Linked DNA regions of Homo sapiens: regions 1, 2 and 3 are each linked to region 4. The links are contacts of gene promoters, found by promoter capture Hi-C in blood cells and fetal thymus (Javierre and others, 2016). All regions are on one chromosome and are shown on one strand. The core of a region is centred on a gene start or on the middle of the fragment in contact, and the rest is flanking DNA. Distances in the headings are between cores, read along the strand shown.

Region 1 (2,908 bases), core at 314-2,813, 190 kb after region 4:
GGCTCAGAGAGGTTCGGCGTTCACCTACGGTCACTGGTCTGGAACAGGACCAGGTCTGTGTGACCGACCGCAGGCTTTACATTACCCAGGGCAGGCCAGACGTGGTGGATCATGCCTGTGATCCCGTGTTAATTCCCATCTTGGGAGGCCAAGATGGGAAGACTGCTCAAGGCCAGGAGTTTGAGACCAGCCTGGTCAACACAGTGAGACCCCCATCTCTATTTCTTACAATTAAATGATATTTTTGAAATAAATAAATAAAACTACCCCAGGCAGAGTCCCAGGCCCTGACTCGGCAGGTCTGGAGTTGGGCCTGAAATCACATTTTAAATAAACAACTTGGCTGGGCACGGTGGCTCACGCCTGTAATCCCAGCACTTTGAGAGGCTAAGATGGGCGGATCACTTGGTAAAACTCTGTCTCTACTAAAAATACAAAAATTAGCCCAGCGTGGTGGCAGGTGCCTGTAATCCCAGCTACTCATGAGGCTGAGGCAGGAGAATCGCGTGAACCTGGGAGGCGGATGTTGCAACGAGCTGAGATCGCACCACTGCGCTCCAGCCTGGGCGACAGAGTGAGACTCCGCCTCAAAAAATAAATAAACACCTACAATTCTATAGCCAGTGGACAAGGTCCCCTGGCCCAGGCCCATCCTCTGGCATCCTCTGGGGGCAGGAGGCAGGGCTGGTATCCTGGGCCCACAGGCATCTGGCTGGGGATGGAGGGGACGGGGACTCACCATCTGGTCGGCCAAGAGCAGCACCGTCTTGAGGCTGAATTTGCGGGAACAGAAGTTGAACAGGTCCTCGAGGCTAGGCCCCAGCAGCTCCATGACCATCACGTTGTAGTCGCCCTCAGCTCCGCACCACTTGATGGACGGGATCCCCACTGGGGGTCAAGCAGAGGGCCTCTGTCAGGGGTCAGAGGCAGGCAGCCAGCCACGCCCGGCCCACCCTGTGCTCATGGCTGCCCACCGCCACCCACCCGGCGCCCGCCGCCGCCCACCCTGCGCTCACCGCCACCCTGCATCATCTTGTAGAACTTGCTCTCGATGTGCAGCTGGGGGTGCTTTGTCTTCACACACTCCAGCTTGATGGCGACTTCCTCACCAGAGGCGATGTTGGCACCTGCCCGGGGCAGGGAGGCAAGGGACCAGGGTCACCCTCAAAGGCCAGGCAGTCCCAGGCGCCCCACTAAGCATTTCTGAGATCTGGCGTGTGCCGGGCCCGGGGCCATCTGCCCTTGAGGAGCTCTTGGGGGAGGCTGGGAAGGGGGCAAAGGAGCCCCGGCAAAGGGTTCCTGAGGGGAAAGAAGGTCAGCGCTGTGAGGGACAGAGGTGACACACAAGGGCTACCCAGGGCCACAGGTTGGGGCGACAAGAAGGCCCGATGTGAGTGGGGCAAGGGTCAGGTATGCAAAAGGCTCACAGACCACCTAAGGGAGGGGGCTGAGTCCTAGAGCAAATTCAGGCAGTGAGGTCTGTCGGGTTGAGATGGTGGCACGTGCAGAAGAGGCCCAATGGGGCTGGGCTGCCGAACACACCAGAACAAGCCAGGACCACCCTGGCCTACAGGATGAGGATGGGACAGCCGCAGCAACCCCTCAGTCAATGCTGATGCCTTCAGAGGCAGCCCTGCACATTCTAATCCAGTGTCTCATTCGATTCTCAACCCCCTTGTAGAGATGAGAAAACAGAGACCCAGCTAGAGACCCAGCTCAAGGTCACCTGACCTGTAAATGGCGGCCTTGAGATCAACCCCGGCTCTGCTGGCCTCCAGCATAGGTCAGAGGTCCTGCCTGCACCTCCCCGTCTCCCCCAGTCCACTCCTGGCTTCTCAAGGGGCTCTAAGAAAATACCCTCACACACACCAAGGCCCCGCTCTCTGCCTGGGCCCACTGCCCAACTCAAGAAGTCACAAGAAAGACCAAGCCCAAAGTGTACCTTGCCTCAGTTTCCCTGGCTGTATGGGTGGATGAGATGAAGGGCTGGGGCTAGGCTGGGCGACAGGGTGTCTCCTTCCTGGGGCCAGCAGCGAGCCCAGCAGGAGGAGTAGGACAGTGTCGCAACAGGACACAAACAGGCCAGAACAACCCCCAGGGACACAGCCTCAGGAGGAGTTCAAGACAGGAGAAAGGCAGGACCTCACATCAGAGGAAAAGATGAGACTGTTCATTAATAATGTCCCTGAACAACCGGCTGGCCACCTGAGAAAAGACACCATGGCTCACACCACAACCAGGAGAAATCTCAAGTAGAGGAAAAGTTTGTATATAAGAAATAAAGGTGTGGGTGTGAGTTGGCACAGCCCCTGTGCACCTCTTGGGTGAAGCTGAACATAAACAAACGCTCGCCCAAGCAACCCCACTCCTGAGTGTACATCCTTCAGAAACACGTGTGCACCAGGGGGACAGGACAAGGATGGACACAGGAGCAAACAGCCCAAGTGCTCAGCAGCAGAAGAACAGGAACAGTGGCGCAGTCACCAGGGAATCCCAGGCGGCAGTGAAGAGGAAAGGATGCCTGCTTCACACAATGACCCTGGTCCCAGGGGTGCACTCCTCACAGCAGCCAGAGGGTGGAAACAACAAACATCTGTCACAGATGCAAGGATGAATGGAATGCAGTGCCTCCATGCGGCGGAATATTATTCAGCAATAAAGAGGAATAAAGTACCGATACACGCTACGACACGAGTGCACCTTGAAAACATTCTACCCGAGGCCAGGCACAGTGGCTCACGCCCGTAATCCCAATACTTTGGGAGGCTGAGGCGGGTGGATCACAAGGTCAGGAGTCCGAGACCAGCCCAGCCAAGGTGGTGAAACCCTGTCTGTACCAAAAATACAAAAATTAGCCGGGCGCAGTGGCAGGCATCTGTAATCCCAGCTACTTGGGAGGCTGAGGCAG
Region 2 (3,034 bases), core at 194-2,693, 220 kb after region 4:
GAGTGGCAAGCCAGGCAGAAAGGGATGACCTTGAGGGGGGGGTCACAGACCCTTTCTACAAGATTATTTTAATGCTAATGCTCAGACACTCCCAACAGGGCTCAGAGCCCTTTTGCTCTCATCCAGTGAGAGCGTGCTGTGGGTGCACATTACAAAAAAGCCCGGTTAGAGAAACGGAGCAAGCCCCCCAGGGTCTAGAAATGGATGGCTCTGGGAAATGGGGATTTCCTATCCCACTGAGGTGTGGCCACAGGTTCCCAGCACCCAGACCCCCTCTGAAGATGGCCAGGGAGTTAAGAAGATGAGGGGCCAGGGTGGGGGTGTACAGTCAGAGACTGAGCAGGCCTTTCAAAGTGGGAGGAGGGCCTGGTAAGTAGGTAGCTGGGGAGTTATTATTCCCATTTCACAGTTGAGGAAACGGAGGCCCAAAGCACAGAGACTTCTGTTTTCTCTAAGCAAAGATTAGCCTGGTACAAGTACAGCTGATGACCCAGCCCTGACATCCTCCTCTCCCTAACTCCCCCATCCAGGCATTTGGTGTAGACACCCCTGAGGGAGTTAGGAGCCCTGGGGGCCAAACCGACTCGGTTACTGTTTCCCATGTGGATCTTGAACAAATCACCTGTCTTCTGAGCCTGTTTCCTCATCTGTACAAGGGGTTGGTTACTATGCCCCACCTTCACCCCTTCCTATTTTTCTTCTAATCCCCTCACTCTGAAGCTTGCCCAGAAACTCATCCCAAAGGGGCGAACCCATCTGGAGGCCTGGAGGTCATTGGCCCTGGCTCAGGGATCCTGTCTGCTCCCAGCCCACAAGGAGCGGATATGCGCCGACCTAGTGGTTCGTGTCCACCTGGCCCAGACTCAGAGATGTCTTCATTCTGGGGGTTTTCCCAAGAGCTCATCCCCGTCCTTCTCTCCCCAGCACTTCCCGTTCTCTGGTCCCTCAATACCTTCAGTTGGTCCAAGTCCTTTCTACAAACACACAAACATGCAGACCCTTTTTCTGCCAGACCCATGATGGCGGTGTTTGTGGGGACAGGGCCTACATAATTTAGCTCATTTAATCTTCACAACACCCTGGGGAGGTAGCTCTATGTACCCACTTTCCAGATGTGGAAACTCATGGTTAGAGAGAGCAAAGGTCTTTATCCAGATCCCAGTGTTGGCGGTGGAGGTCTTGGCCTGTTTTTTTCTGTTACATCTCCCGGTCTCCCTTCATAATCTTCCATGGAGTGTTCAGAATGGTACCCAACCATGGTCAATCTCTCAAATGTTACATTATGCAGCCATTAAAACAATGATTACACATACACAAATGACTCACCACAACGAGAAAATGCTTATGACACAATATTCAAGGGAAAAGCAGGACATAAAAGTTGCAGATACAGTATGATAAAATTATATGAAAATGGTTGTGCATGGAAAAAAGACTGAAAGGAAACACACCAAAATATCCAGAGTGATTGTGTCCTGGTACTATGGATGATTTCTTTCCTACTTTTCTACATTTGCCAAATAGTCAATCGGCATACAGTTTTACAACAAAGAAAAGGCACCAATGATAATAATGATAATAATAAAAAGAATTATAGGGCCGGGTGCGGTGGCTCACGCCTGTAATCCCAGCACTTTGGGAGGCCGAGGAGGGCGGATCACCTGAGGTCAGAGTTTGGAGACCAGCCGAAACCCTGTCTCTACTAAAAACACACAAAAATTAGCCGGGCGTGGTGGTGCATGCCTGTAATCCCAGCTACTAGGGAGGCCGAGGCAGGAGAATTTCTTGAACCCGGGAGGCAGAGGTTGCAGTGAGCCGAGATCGTGCCAGCAACAGAGTGAGCCTCCGTCTCAAAAAAACAAAACAAACAAATAAATAATAAGAAGAATGATAACAATACATTTGCGGTTGAAATATTTGGAAACCTGCTGCTTCCTCTTCAACTTCCTCTCCTTCAATTCCCTCCAAAGTCTACGTTTTCAGGACAACGTGACTATAACCCAGAGACAAGGGAGGATTTGGGGGGAGCAGGCAGTATCTCCACAGACCCACGCCCACCTCCTCCTCCTCTCCTTTGACCCGGTTCTCCTCTCCGTCGAGTGAGGACCCCCACCCCGGGCCCTCCTCCTCCCAGCACCTACCCCCAGCTGCTGCTGGCGCTCACCTGAAGCTTGCTGGCCGGCCTTCGAGATGCGAAGTGCGCACACCTGTGCCTGCAGGTGAGGACTCCGCTGGGGAGCGCTCCGGGAGGAGGGAGCCGGCCGGGGGCGGGGCCGCGACGTCACCGGCCCAGCCCCGCGCCGCTTCCCGGCCCCGCCCCGCCCCGCCCCGCCCCGGTTTCCCGGCCCCGGGGGTTTCGTGGTTCTCATGCTTGCGGGGTGAGGCGCTGGGACACTTCTCCCGGCACGCACGCCCCACATGGCCTGGGCCCCGGGCGTCAGCCGCGCCCGCCTTGGAGGCGCGGTCCTCCAAGTGCGGCCCTCCAAGTGCGGTCCTCGGGGGTGGGCGGACTGAAAGGGGAGGTCCCACTCTCCCAGATGAGCATCTTTCTGATCTCCCAGATCGGAAAGAGCTGGGATCCCCCACCCCACCTCCACCCCTGGGTTACTTAGAACTCTTGGGGCCTCGGACTTCAGGTTCAGATCACCTGGAGTAAGGGATGACCTCCGAGGGATGAGGAGCCTCCGAAAGGCCTGTTTCCTTCTCCTCGCAGCCCACTCTACTTCTCTCCGGCCCGCTCCAACACCTAAGAGAGAGATAGGGACATGGAGATCGGGGTGTTTGGGTCAAGTTATCTTTGGATCTGACACCTGCGCTCCGGAAACTTTCCATCTTCTTTGTATTATCTGAGACTGCTTGTATTTGGCAAATTTTTTTCTTGAAAATATCAGCCTGCTGGTGGTGGCAGAGATAAGGGTCTCCGCTCTGTCGGACAGGTTCCAGCTGCCCAAGAGTCGTAAATTAGCGTTTGCCTTAGGGCAGCAATTCCATTTCTGGAAATCTCTTCCAAGGAAGTCATGCAGAATACCTGTTC
Region 3 (2,808 bases), core at 259-2,758, 160 kb after region 4:
CCAAAGGAAGCATTTGAGAGAAAGAACCCTTGTCAACCTCATCTCCCAGCCCAAGCCGTGCTCCCACTGACTGAGACGGCCAGGCACTCCAGTAAATCAAATCATACTTACATGCTCTGAGGTTACTGCTATTAAAATTATCTAACCTATGCATCCTGCATCTACCTTTCTTCTCAAAGCAAATATGTACTGTTTTGGAAAATCTAGATTTTCCCACATCCTATTTAAACTCCATTGACAAATCTGTGTATAGATGCACTTTCTCCTCCTGGAGATGAGGCTAGGACCCCACATGCTCTGGGAAGTGGTCACGAGACCTCTGCTCCTTGAGTAACCTGCCTGTCTCATTCCTCTGTGTGTGCTCAAGGTGGTCCCACTCCCTGCAAAGACCTCCTGCACTTCACCTGCCAACCTCCACTGTCCACTGAGCCTCAGCCCAACTACCCTTGTTCCAGAGAGCACCGGCTCCTCAGCTCACCCCCAGGCAGAGCCGACTGCTGCCTCCTGGAACCCCCATGGTTTTAACCTGAAGCTTTATTCACGTGCTTTCCAGGTCTAAGCAGCAATCCAATACACTGGCCTTCCCAGTGTGGCTGCAAGCTCTCCAAGGGCAGGTCTGTGTTGGGGGTAGCTACTCAGCAGGAAGGGCCCAGGACTCAAAACCAGAAAACCTGGGTGCTTCCTCCCCCAGGATCTTAGGCAATTCACCCCTCTGAGCCTCAGTCTCTCCATCTATAAAATAGGTGCAATAATTTCAAGGTTTCAGGGCAGTTAAAAGGATTACATAAAACCATATATTTGAAATATAACTTGCAAAGCCCCACAAATTCCAATGAGAATATTAATATAACTAGCATGTTAATATTAATTAATATCCTCACACATACCCTTCACCAACATCTATCATTGTGCCTCGCAGGCACCCAAACTGACTGCTGATGGGATCCCAGATTCACTGCTCACTCTGCATGAAACAAAAACCACAGGCGCTAGAGGTGGGGACCAGGAGGCTCTGCCAGTAGCTACAGCGGCGCCATGGGGTTAGTTATTTTCTCTCGGAGCTTTTCGGTAAATGGGGAACAGCCCTGCTGAGTGGAGTGGAGGTTCTCAGCCACTTGCCAGCAGGAGAGGCCCCATTCTGGGTGCAGGCAGTCCACAGGGGTTGGAGCAGGAGATAAATAAAGGTACCAAGCTCCACACACGTCCCTTGGAGTAGGGGGGCTGTCTGATCTGAAAATCCCTTTGAGGGTAACAGAGGCAGTAACTTCCGGAGGTCTCACTGCACCCCCTCTGTTGGGGAGGGGGACCATCTGGGACTGCCCATGACCCGCAGGTAAAGGGTCTGTGGATCCTGGCTTCCCAGAGAGGAGGCTGGAGTCTTCAGGAGATCACCAAGCATTTTAAGTTGGAAAAGAAGCAACAGGCACACGTGCTTCCACGTTTCTCCTTCAGTCTTCATGGTCATGTGACCTGCCCTATCTCCAAACCACAACCTTGGGAGCTAAAGGCGTTCAAATCAAGGACTTCACCAGAGCCTGTGAGGTGGGCAGACAGGGTACGAATAGCGCCCCTTGCCTTAGCAGGAGTGAAGCTCAAAGAGGGCAAGTGGCTTGCCCAAGGTCACAGCTGGGTTTCCTGACTCAATCCAGTGCCCTGTTCACCACTGCTGCAACGGTGCCGTCCAGCTAAAAAAAAGGCTGAAGACCTCATCTTTCCTGCAGAGAATTTGAAACAAAGCGCAAGAGCTGTTTTAGAACTTCTCTGATTCTTTTCTATCTATAGCTACCTTTCAAATGCTATGGGTAAATGTTTATAACCCGGTGTTAAGTAAACAATGAGATAACGTGTGTTCATGCCTAGAAAGAACATCTGCCCAAACCTGAACCATGATTACTTCTTGATTTGGAAATTTGGGGTAATTTTTATTCTTATCCCCAATCTTTCCTGTGCTTCAAGTTTACTATCAACAAGTACGGCCGGGTACGGTGGCTCACGCCTGTAATCCCAGCACTTTGGGAGGCCGAGGCGGGTGGATCAAGAGGTCAGAAGATCGAGACCATCCTGGCTAACACGGTGAAATCCTGCCTCTACTAAAAATACAAAAAATTAGCCGGGCGCCGTGGCAGGTGCCTGTACTCCCAGCTACTCGGGAGGCTGAGGCAGGAGAATGGCTTGAACCCGGGAAGCGGAGCTTGCAGTGAGCCGAAATCGCACCACTGCACTGTCTGCCTGGGCGACAGAGCAAAACTCTGTCTCAAAAAAAAAAAAAAAACAAGTACTACTTCTAATCTCAGAGAAGCCTATTGTTTTTCAAAGGTACAAGACTGAGATCAACGTGGCAAACTTTTCACCAAATATTCACTTAGTGGGATGTGACTTTGTAAAACATGGTTGAGCTGGAAGTGACGCAGGTTCAGCACAAAGGCTTTCTGGGTGGATCTTCCCCTGTGGTTTCCACCCCAGAGAAGGAAAAGGAGGTGTCCACCAAGCTTCCTGTCTCCCATCACAGGCCTAAGACCTCCCACACCAGCCAGCCAGACTCAAGGCTGTTTAGTGAGCACCACCGGCTCCTGGAATAACCAATCCTGTTCCAACCACCCCTAATATCTTTTTTTTTTTTTTTTTGAGATGGAGTTTCGCTGTCACCCAGGCTGGAGTGCAATGGCGTAGTCTCAGCTCACTGCAACCTCCGCCTCCCAGGTTCAGGCAATTCTCCTGCCTCAGCCTCCCAAGTAGCTGGGTTTACAGGCACATGCCACCACACCTGGCTGATTTTTGTATTTTTAGTAGAGACGGGGTTTCACCATG
Region 4 (2,996 bases), core at 86-2,585:
ACAAACCTAGGCTCACCCAGAATCCTGGCTCTTGGCTGCAGGGACCTCAGAGCCCATCTTTTGGGGTCCTGTTCTAAGCTGTGGTCCCCTCACAGCCAGCTCCCGCTTACGTCTGCTCTGGCGGGACCGAGGTGCCTCCCGAGATGGTGCACCTGGAAGGTTCTCCTCCTCCCGCTGGGCAGAAGCTGGCCCGCCTGCTGTGGTCCCCACTGGGCACGGCTCAGCCCTGCCCTGTGTCCAGGCCTTGCCGGGCTACACGCCTGGGGCTGCCAACAGTCACCCCCGGGGCAAGGGCAGCTCTCGCCCTCCTCCGAGAACAGCCCCCCATGGGCAAGGCTGTGGCTGGATTAGTGTGGGCCTCCTCGGGCTGGGGCCGGGCAGAGAGCTCCCCGGATGGTGAAGACGGGCCTGGACTTGGGCCTGGACTTGGACTTGGGTCTCGGTTCAAATCCCAGCAGCACCTCTTCCTCCCTCCGTGACCTTGAATGAGCTGTTTAACCTCTTTGGTCTCAGTTTTCTCATCTATCAAGCAGGGTGGTCATTTTCCACCTCACAGGTGGGTGGTGTGAGGCCTCCAGGTGAAAGGGTCCTGCACACAGGAGGCGCTCAATAAATGTCTGTGGCGGCTGCAACAACCCCCCGGGGGTGAAGTAGGAAGTCTGAGGGGCTCAGAAATGAGAGAGACAGAGACAGGGAGAGACAGAGAGAGAGAGAGAGACAGAGAGAGAGAGAGACAGAGAGAGAGAGAGACAGAGAGAGGGAGAGAGAGAGGGAGAGAGAGAGAGAGAGAGAGAGAGAGAGGGAGAGACAGAGAGAGAGAGGGAGGGTCTTTCTTTATTCCCAGGCCGGGCAGCCAGGCCCTTCTCATCCAGACTCAACTCTCCCCACCCTGGGCCTTGGGCTCCCTCCTGCCTTGTCCAGCATCTGGGAGTTGGGGGTTCCCGCTGTATGGCTGAGTGCTCTCGGGGATCCTTACCCCCGTACCCACCCCTGGCCCAGCCTGGCTCCAGGCTTCCCTTTCCAGGACATCTGTAGCCCCGGCTGGCCCTCCGTCCTCCAGAGCGGGCCTGATTTCTGTGCCCTGGGAGGAGGGGCTCAGGCCTGGCTTGGCCACCCATGTGCTCACCTTGTAGATGGCCATGGTGGACCTGTAGAACTGGTCCATCTCGGGGGCCATGGAGGGGCTGTCCCGGGTCTGAGCAGGAGGCTGGGAGCTGGTGGCGATGGCACAGCCGGGAGCAGTGGTAGGTAGTCCCTCAGGTGCCCACGACTCAGCTGGCAGCGAGGAAGCCTCGGAGAGGGACCTGGAGATGGAGGCCTGCCTCAGAGGAGTGGCAGCTTAATTATTCACCAACTCGGGATGTCAGAATGTGATCTGGGGCGTAACCAGATCCGGCAGGGAAGGCATCCTGTGCCGGGCAGGCTCGTGTGACCTGCCCTTCAATTATTCACCCCTTGGAGCTGTGGGCTGATACAAGTGCCCATGTGGATGAGCCCCCTCCTGGGTCACCCCCTCCTCAAGGACCCCAACCCTGGGGGGCCCCGCCCTCCCACCTGCCTATACCAGGCATTGCCCACCTTACTGGGCGGGCGCTGCCCGATGCCCTCCCCCAGGACTCTCTCTGCCAGACCCAGCAGCAGCAGCCCCTGGAGGGGAACGCCGCTTTACTTCTCACTGTCCTCAGGCCTGCGGCTCACAGTGGGGCCACGCCCTCTGAGCTTGGCTCCCACAGCCGCTCTGGCCCGCCCAGCTCCTCCACTTGCCGGAGCAGGAGCAGCACAAACGCTGGAGTTGCCCAGCCCTGGGCAGACCTCGGCCCTGCACACGCGCTGCCTGTCCACGCGGAGTCCCCGGCCTCTCTGGGTGACAAATGGGGCTCTCCCTGGTCCTCCAAGATGAAGTTGAAGATTGTGGCCCTCCTTGGGCCTGCCGGGGGTATGTGGGCCTGGCAGCTGCCTCTGCATACCCTAAGGGCCGGTTTAGGGGAGGCCTAGAGGAAAGAGGAGGTGTCCCTGCCCAGGGATCCTGGAAAACAGAGTGTCCGGGTACAAAGGAAAAGTCCGGTCAAGGCCAAGGGTCAAGGCCGAGGGGAGCCGGGGGTCAGGGGAACAGGTGGATCTCACACCACTGCACACACAACACAGGTGAACTTGAATCCAAATGATTTATTTCAGTTTTGGCTCTTAAGCCACTTCCATTGGGAAGAAGAAACTCCCAGGAGTGACCTTTGAGAGCTGAGGGTTCTCGGGGTGGGGCAGTGTGAGGGGCTGGGCCAGTGTGAGGGGCAAAGTCCAACGGGCATCCCACTCCTGCGGCCTGGGCTTTCCCAGCTGATGGGGTGGGGGACACCCATTTCTTTAGTCCCAGCCCCCAGGGAACGGAGCAGAGGGCAGAGGGAGTGGGCTGCACCCACCAGGAAGCCTGGGAGTGCCCTTGCTGGGGGCTGGGGCAGAGGCAGCCCGGCAGGCCCTCAGGGAGGCTGGGGCTGGGGGCAGGGGTACGGTTGTGCCCGGGTACCCTTAATGTTTGAGCTGATGGGGGAGTCAGTTGTCCTTGACAGTCAGGGAAAGGGGCCAAAGGGGGCTCTAGACTTTCCCAGCCTGGAATGACAGAAAGTGCTGGAAGGCGGGGTTAGTGGGAGACAGGCCTTCAGGACCAGCCTCGGGCAGGCAGCTTGGCATTCTCCCAGGCCTGGTCTATGGACTCAGAGGTGCCTGGGCCCAGATCTGCCCGGGAGGGCAGTGGCTGGGCTTGGCCTGGCAGGGGCTGAATGGACGAGGTCAGCTGGGGCCGGTGAGAGGCTGGGGACCCTCAGGGTGAGAGCAGCAGCTGGATGAGCTTCTGGAACTCCTCGCGGTGCTCATAGATGTAGACCTCGGTCTCCCAGAGGGCGTTGACCAGCACTGTGTCACTGACCTCATCCAGCATGATGTCCGTCCCCAGCTGGGGGTTCAATCTGTTCGGGCCAGGGAGGAGGGGGTCACCCTAGGATGCT

The links. Contacts are between HindIII fragments. The CHiCAGO score rates a contact against its expected background, and 5 or more counts as called.
Region 1: a fragment that was not itself captured here is called in contact with the fragment with the promoter of BAIAP2L2 in region 4 in 3 of 17 cell types (endothelial precursors, M2 macrophages and M1 macrophages); the score reaches 6.6 in endothelial precursors.
Region 2: a fragment that was not itself captured here is called in contact with the fragment with the promoter of BAIAP2L2 in region 4 in 1 of 17 cell types (M0 macrophages); the score reaches 5.0 in M0 macrophages.
Region 3: a contact is called between a fragment that was not itself captured here and the fragment with the promoter of BAIAP2L2 in region 4, in 2 of 17 cell types (M0 macrophages and M2 macrophages). The highest score is 8.6, in M0 macrophages.

Annotation. Positions count from the first base shown.
Region 1 is chr22:38,302,122-38,305,029 of GRCh38, forward strand. TPTEP2-CSNK1E (TPTEP2-CSNK1E readthrough) reads right to left here. Exons shown (of 15, transcript NM_001289912.2): 7 at 1,017-1,127; 8 at 740-888. CSNK1E (casein kinase 1 epsilon) reads right to left here. Exons shown (of 11, transcript NM_152221.3): 3 at 1,017-1,127; 4 at 740-888. Among named protein-coding and RNA genes, the nearest start is that of CSNK1E, 14 kb to the right of the region's middle. The HindIII fragment of the contact is 3,411 bases long and covers 1-2,908 here.
Region 2 is chr22:38,333,961-38,336,994 of GRCh38, forward strand. TPTEP2-CSNK1E (TPTEP2-CSNK1E readthrough) reads right to left here. Exons shown (of 15, transcript NM_001289912.2): 5 at 2,648-2,746. Among named protein-coding and RNA genes, the nearest start is that of CSNK1E, 18 kb to the left of the region's middle. The HindIII fragment of the contact is 1,450 bases long and covers 719-2,168 here.
Region 3 is chr22:38,264,828-38,267,635 of GRCh38, forward strand. All of the region lies in intron 1 of TMEM184B (transmembrane protein 184B), which reads right to left. Among named protein-coding and RNA genes, the nearest start is that of TMEM184B, 6.8 kb to the right of the region's middle. The HindIII fragment of the contact is 1,957 bases long and covers 531-2,487 here.
Region 4 is chr22:38,109,349-38,112,344 of GRCh38, forward strand. It overlaps BAIAP2L2 (BAR/IMD domain containing adaptor protein 2 like 2), which reads right to left and starts at 1,336. Exons shown (of 14, transcript NM_025045.6): 1 at 1,127-1,336. The coding sequence starts at 1,177. It overlaps PLA2G6 (phospholipase A2 group VI), which reads right to left. Exons shown (of 17, transcript NM_003560.4): 17 at 2,147-2,957. The coding sequence ends at 2,813. The HindIII fragment of the contact is 13,026 bases long and covers 1-2,996 here.